Regions from separate parts of the Homo sapiens genome. Here region 1 is linked to region 2. Evidence: promoter capture Hi-C in human tissues and cell types (Jung and others, 2019). All regions are on one chromosome and are shown on one strand. The core of a region is centred on a gene start or on the middle of the fragment in contact, and the rest is flanking DNA. Distances in the headings are between cores, read along the strand shown. Region 1 overlaps MIB1 (MIB E3 ubiquitin protein ligase 1). Region 2 holds the start of ABHD3 (abhydrolase domain containing 3, phospholipase).

What was found. Contacts are between HindIII fragments. The study calls those that stand out against the background at their distance.
Region 1: a contact is called between a fragment that was not itself captured here and the fragment with the promoter of ABHD3 in region 2, in 3 of the 25 tissues and cell types used here (lymphoblastoid cells, spleen and stomach).

What each region holds. Positions count from the first base shown.
Region 1 is chr18:21,764,752-21,768,315 of GRCh38, reverse strand. It overlaps MIB1 (MIB E3 ubiquitin protein ligase 1), which reads right to left. Exons shown (of 21, transcript NM_020774.4): 2 at 2,373-2,544. Among named protein-coding and RNA genes, the nearest start is that of MIB1, 26 kb to the right of the region's middle. The HindIII fragment of the contact is 7,506 bases long and covers 1-3,564 here.
Region 2 is chr18:21,702,530-21,706,066 of GRCh38, reverse strand. It overlaps ABHD3 (abhydrolase domain containing 3, phospholipase), which reads left to right and starts at 1,293. Exons shown (of 9, transcript NM_138340.5): 1 at 1,293-1,563; 2 at 2,320-2,483. The coding sequence starts at 1,402. It also overlaps a transcript of MIB1 not described here. RefSeq lists enhancers at 886-955, 2,416-2,565 and a silencer at 1,126-1,895. The HindIII fragment of the contact is 17,143 bases long and covers 1-3,537 here.

The DNA.
Region 1 (3,564 bases), core at 30-2,529, 62 kb before region 2:
ACTTTATAAATGAGGAAACTGAGTCTCAAAGAAGTAATGTGCCCAAGGCCACAAAAGTTAAAATGTAATGGACTCCACATATGATCCTAGTCTAAGCATTTCAGGGTATCTGGGTATCACTATACTCTTCACTATTGTAGAGATGGCAAACTCAAATCGCTATAGCTTCTAGGTGAGTAATGACAGCCCAAGAAAGACAGCACTACAATGGCAAATGGCACTTGACCTCAGACTTGGGAAGATAACAGGAAATGGCAGGGACTTTGGTTGACTCAAAAGCATCATCAGTCTAAAAGGTCCAGTCTAAAGGGCTCCATTGCTTCAACAAACTGTTGCCAAGAACAAACGTAAGCCCAGTACTGATAGTCTTCTGTATTGGCGGGGGCAGTGGGGGGAGCAGGGTGTTCTATGAATCCATCAACAGATTTTTGTGTGAAATCACCTGTTTTTAAAAACTAGCCATTATTCCAGCCAGGCATGGTGGCTCACACCTGTAATCCCAGCACTTTGGGAGGCCAAGGCAGGTGGATCACGAGGTCAGGAGATCGAGACCATCCTGACTAACACGGTGAAACCCTGTCTCTACTAAAAATACAAAAAATTAGCTGGGTGTGGTGGCGGGCGCCTGTAGTCCCAGCTACTCGGGAGGCTGAGGCAGGAGAATGGCGTGAACCTGGGAGGCGGAGGTTACAGTGAGCCAACATTGTGCCACTGCACTCCAGCCTGGGCAACAGAGAGAGACTCCATTTCAAAAAACAAAAAAAAAATAGCCATTATTCAAAAATTTAAGAGTACTGTATTGATATGATTTGGTTGTGTCCCCGCCCAAATCTCATCTTGAACTGTAGTTTCCATAATTCCCACACGTCGAGGGAGGGACCCAGTGGGAGGTAACTTAATCATGGGGGCGGTTACCTCCATGCTGTTCTCTTGATAGTGAGTTCTCACGAGACCTGATGATTTTAATAAGGGGCTTTCCCCCTTTTTTGCTCAGCACTTCTCCTTGCTGCTGCCATGTGAAGAAGGAAGGGCGTGTTTGCTTCCCCTTCCACCATGATTATAAGTTTCCTGAGGCCTCCCCAGCAATGCTGAACTGTAAGTCAATTAAACCTCTTTCCTTTATAAATTACCCAGTCTCGGGTATTTCTTCATAGCAGTATGAAAAGGGATTAATATATGTATGTATCGGTAAAATACATCTGTGGTCTGGATTTTACCTACACTAACCTGTTCTCACAGTACTACATACTTACAGAAGATTATGAACCTTGATAAAGATTCTACACTCAAGTATCTGGTCCAGCTTGGTTCTCCAAGACCATGTATCCCTATTGTTCTACATCTTTCTCATTCACATAATCAGAAAGGTTTGGAGATTTTTGTTTTGTTTTCCTAATTTTATTTTATTGTTCTATTCTTTTCATTTATTTACTTATTTTAATAGAGATGAGGTCTTACTATGCTGTCCGGGGTGGTCTTGAACGCCTGGCCTCAAGTAATCCTCCCACCTCAGGCTTCCCAAAGTGCTAGAATTAAAGGCATGAGCCACCCGCCCAGCCTTATTCATTTTTACAGTGTCTTTATTATTCCTTAATTTTAATTGCAAACAAAAGACAAAAATAACCAACTTGTTCAAAATTACTCAGTTAATAAGTGGCACGATTATGATCTACACCAAGAGAGGTATGACTCCAAAATCTATTTATCTACTCCTACTCCTAGCTGCCTCCCTATGACTGGCTGGATTCTCGCTCCTTTGCAGTATCTGTATCTACATGAGAAGATCCCATTACCTAAAACTCCGCCCCCATTAACAATGAATACTCCTCTCTCCTTGCTCCTAAGACACTTAATACATATCTCTAACACAGTCTAAAACATCACATGATAATCACTGACTCATTATTTCCTTTAATTTGTAAACTCCTTAAGAATACTATGTGTCTTATTTATCTTCTAGTGTCCATAAACATAGTAGATGTTGTATAGTCCTAATAAATGCCTACTGACTCAATCAATGAGCCCTACCATTCATCTGATATCAATTAACAGACTAGAAGGCATAGTGAGAAGAAAACAATTGGTATCTTTTTGGATACCCTTGTATTTCCAAATGTAGAGTAGTGCTAACCCTCTAAGCCAGAGAAAGAATAGCCCAGATTACCTTGGAAAAGTACAGACAGCTCCATCTTCAAAGAGCTCTTCTCTTGTTATATGGCAGATTTGGTCCACTTCTATCCTACTATTGGGTACCTCCTGTTAGTAAACCAACTGTCAGAAGCTATTTGCTAATCCTATTTTTAAGGCCCAGAAGTACATAACTTGAATACAAACAAAAACCCTCGGTTGAAGAAGAAAAGGGTTCTCCCTACCTCTCACTTCCCGGTGTAGTAATTCGGTAAAAGCGATGTCTTAAATGATGTTTATCTCCATGATAACACACTGTGCACAAATCATAATTTGTACACTCTGCACACTTCCATCGAATGCCAATGATTGGTTGCTGGCGGCAGGTATCACACATGGTTCCATCATGCTTGATGCCTATTAAAACAAGGACACATGCTCAGATTAATCACAAATTTTATTTATTTGAATATTATTCCTTGGGGGAAAAAAATAAGAACAGAACATTTTACAAGATATTCTAATAAATTAGGAAATAACACTTCAAATTTAACACATATAGCTTCAAGATAATGGATCTCAACTACGTTAATAAATGCGAATTATATATATTTTCCCTCTGCTCCCTTTTTCATTAGTAAGAACACATCTCAGTAACTCTTTCCTCGCTCTCATCCACAAACTAGAACTTAAGTTCAGCACAGAGAAAGAAAGAATCCTTTATCACTAAGGAGATGTTTCAGACTACAAAACCTCAGAAATCTTTGAAAGAATTTTCAACTATTTTCTAGGTAAACAATTACTCCAAAAGAAAAGACCATTTTGCCTTCATGATATCATGGAAACAAACTATCAATTAACCTAAGCATTTACCACCCTTAGATATTGACAAGTTTTTCCCATAGTCAGGAAAAGTTAGAAAATGATTAGGAAGCAAGTTTCCCTATTTTAAAGGAAACAATACACTATAGTGGGGTTTTATCCCCTTAGGAAACAAGAAATAATAAGCTCTAGAAAAAATAAACACTTGGTAAAATGACCTCCACTAAAATTAATCACATGGATGAATGAGACAGACATTAGAACTATAAAAGGTACCAATATAAGTAATGAAAACAACCTTCATTTTCAGGTGAAATAATTGGGGGTAATACTCCTTTACTATTCTATTGTTATATTAATATCACTTGTTCAATAAATAAAAACTAGGATTTTTTTTTCAACAATGTGTGGCTTGTCAACATCAGTGTCACTACTTTATAAACACATCCTGGATGGTCAAGCTCAATGCTGACCAAGCAAGGGCTGTATTATCTGTCCAAAAGTGACACTCTCCTGGATTCAAGTTCTGACTCCGTCTGTATTTACTTTTATGTCCTTGAAAAGGTCGTTTTATCAGAAGTATTTACGTATAAAATAATGTGGGGTTTTTTTGTT
Region 2 (3,537 bases), core at 44-2,543:
TAAACTGAAATACGCATGCATTTATTGGTAGGTAGTGCAGAAGGCTGGTGCAGGGGTTATGAAGAATGCTATGAAGTTTCAAGTATGGCAACCAGCATATGCATTCACGTTTGCTATGTGTGCTCAGGTGTGAGAGCCAGAGCGTGAAAATTACTTCTGCTCACGGGGAGTCCAGTATATACACTATCTTGTCCTCTCGGGAACTCTATAAAGTAGAAATTGTTACGCTACAGATTATTAAAACAAGAAAAAAACAGGCTCAGTAAAGGTAATTGAATTATTTTGGGTGCTGCAGCCAACCACCAAGTTGCAATGACCAAATCGGAGCCAAATAAATTGCTCACTTCTGGTCCGTCTCATGTCCCCATCTAAATTACATCATTAATTTACAATCCTTTGGCATTTTTCATAATCTAGACAGCACTTTCCCTTCTTTCGTCTGTTTAAGTCTTGCCATTCTTCCTACCTCTCTGAGGAAGGAGTTCATAAGAGTAGGAATAGGCTATTAAATTCTAACCATTTCAGATAACCATAAGTATCCTGATTTATCATATTGCCATAAATAAGCCTAGGAGACCCTACTTCATAAATGGTTTCTTGTCTGTACATTAGGTAATCGGTGTGAATTTCCATAAGTCTCTAAATTCAAAGCATTAATGAACCACAAATAGGCTTTTAACAATTGAATCCCGGTTGCTATTCTTGACCTTTTCATTTATTTTCAGAGACCACTTCTCATTTAAGTGACACTTAGCAACTAAAAAGATTCACAGAGTGATTCAGAGTCGAGTATGATGTCCTCACTGTTGAATGCTCATAGAATATTTTTTCTCTTTCCATAGTCTTGAGGACCAACGCAAACGTCTAGAGGATGTGGGATTCTTACCTGCTAACATATCTTTGGCATTAACTCCCCAAATCTTTGAATGCAAGGCACGCTTACCTGACACCCTAAACTGCTAGTTTAGGGACACCCGCCGCAGAGCGGAATCGTTCAAGGTCACTGGGGCTGCAGGTGCGGGGCCTTAACCAGCGCTGCCGATCCGTCAGCTCTCGGCCCACCCTTGGGGATCCCCATCGCCCACTGCGACCTAGCTGGGAGAACCCAGTCCGCCCGCCCTCCCGGTGGCCGGTCTTGGAACCGCGCTTCTGGAAGGTTCCTGAGTGGCTGGCAGTGGGGGCGGCTCCAGGAAGCCGGGGCGGAGCGGGCGGCGTTGGAGTCTCGGGCTACGCCTCCCTGGGCCGCTCCGCCCCGCCCGTTGTCGGAAGCCGCGCTCCGCCAGGCAGGAGACACTGTGGTCGGGAGTAGGCAGCGGCGCCGCGTCCGCTCTCGCCCGCTCTCGCCCGCTCGCCAGCCGGCTCTCCTCCCGCCGCAGGACCCGCGCGCCGCGCTCGGGGGCCATGCAGCGCCTGGCCATGGACCTGCGGATGTTGTCCCGGGAGCTCTCCCTCTACCTGGAACACCAAGTCCGGGTGGGGTTCTTCGGCTCGGGGGTGGGCTTATCCCTTATCCTGGGCTTCAGCGTCGCTTATGCCTTCTACTACCTGAGCAGCATTGCCAAGGTGAGCCGGGGGTGGCGCAGGGCCGCGGGCTGCTGGGCCAGGAGCTAGGGTAGCAGGCGCGGCGCGAGGCTGCGCGGCCAGGGGCGGTCGGCAGCCCCGGGGATAGGCGGCGAGCTGCTCCCGAGCGGCAGCCCCCAGCGCGCGCGGGAAAGCCAACAGGCCCCGCCCGTTCGCCCGCCCCCTGGGGGTCCCGGCCGGGTGGTCCTCGGAGCGCAGCCTGAACCCGGCTGACTTCTGCGCTGCGGCGCTGCCCGGTCACCGATCGCGAAGCCGGCGGCGCACTCGGGAACGCCGTGGCGCTTTTGAAAATGACTCCGGGCAGGGCACGGTGGCTCACGCCTGTAATCTCAGCACTTTGGGAGCCCGAGGCGGGTGGATCACCTGAGGTCAAGAGTTCGAGACCAGCCTGACCAAAATGGTGAAACCCCGTTACAATTACAAAAAATTAGCCGGGCGTGGTGGCGGACGCCTGCAATCCCAGCTACTCGGGAGGCTGAGGCAGGAGAATCCCCTGAACCCGGGAGGCGGAGTTAAAAACAAACAAACTCCCTTATCGCGATTCTCGCCTTCCCCTCGGGGCATTGGCGAAACCCCCGTTTCAGTCCTCTGTGACTGTGAATTTTTTGCGTCAGCCCTCCAGAAAGAGTTGTAATCGGAGGAAGCGCGCGCGCGAGCGACAAGTCTTTGCCGGTTTCTGGTTTACGGTTGGCAGAAACTTTGCTCTGGGCCCTTCTCTGATACTGCTTTTCCCTTCAGAAACCCCAGTTAGTGACCGGGGGTGAGAGTTTCAGCCGCTTCCTTCAAGACCACTGTCCCGTGGTTACAGAAACGTACTACCCGACGGTCTGGTGCTGGGAGGGTCGAGGACAGACCCTGCTTAGACCTTTCATCACTTCGAAGCCCCCGGTGCAGTACAGGAAGTAAGTGAATTTCCGTTTTCAGTCATTTCTGCAAAATCACAGGTTGTTTGTTTGCTTGCTTGCTTATTCCCAGTTCTTGGTTAATAGAATCTGCTTTAGGAAGTATATAGAACAGAAAGAGGGAATGAAAATGGAAGGTACGTCCCCGGCTCCACCCCCAGCTGCAGGAAAATACCCCAGCTGCAGGTATTTGCCTCCTGGTCCCCGCCCTAACCGCCAACCTGATGTAAATGGTTTATTTTTAGGATGAGAGAAGTGTTTGGGGATTACTGTCTCGCAGTTTGTCATACATCTGTCAGAAAGACCCAGATCTTTTGATGATCTGCATTCATTCATTGATAAGTAGCAGATACTGGGGGGGGGGGTGGGGTGAGAAGGATGCCACTTAATTTGGGTTTTGGGCGATTTATTGGTGTAAAATGACTTCCTATTGACAGGCAAATGGGATCTTGATGATAATAGCTCTTGATGTGTTAAAGATACGGTCCAGGATTTATCAGGAACCAGATTTAAATGGTGCCTGTTATTAATTTCCCTTAGTCATCTATCCTTCTGGAGTTTATTTTGTTGCCTGGAACTTGCACTGTTTGTTTGGGAAAATTCTGTAAGTTCATGAATACTATGTGAGAAATAATTTAAATTATTTCAGAAGAAAATCTTGAAGTATACTATACAAGGAGACTGCATTATTGAGTCCAAAGAGCTAGAGCAGTGGTCAGAGATTAGATCAGCATTTTACTTACTCAGACTTCCCTGTCGCATTAGTTGAGTGACCTCAATCAAACAAGGGTTAAATGCTGGATGTTTTGGAGTAATGAGTAAGTATTCATTTATCTTAATAATTAGCAGTTCATTTTTATATACGACCTTGTACGGAGGTTGCTGGAAATACTTGATGGTACTAATCTTCATAAAATCCTTCTAATGAAAGAAAATGATATGTAGATCGAGATATGGGTGTGTGTTCGTGAATGCTGGAAAAATGTTATTTTTTGATGAGCAAATAATGTCATGTGTTTAGAATTAAAATTAAGACATGACTTAAAACATGTAA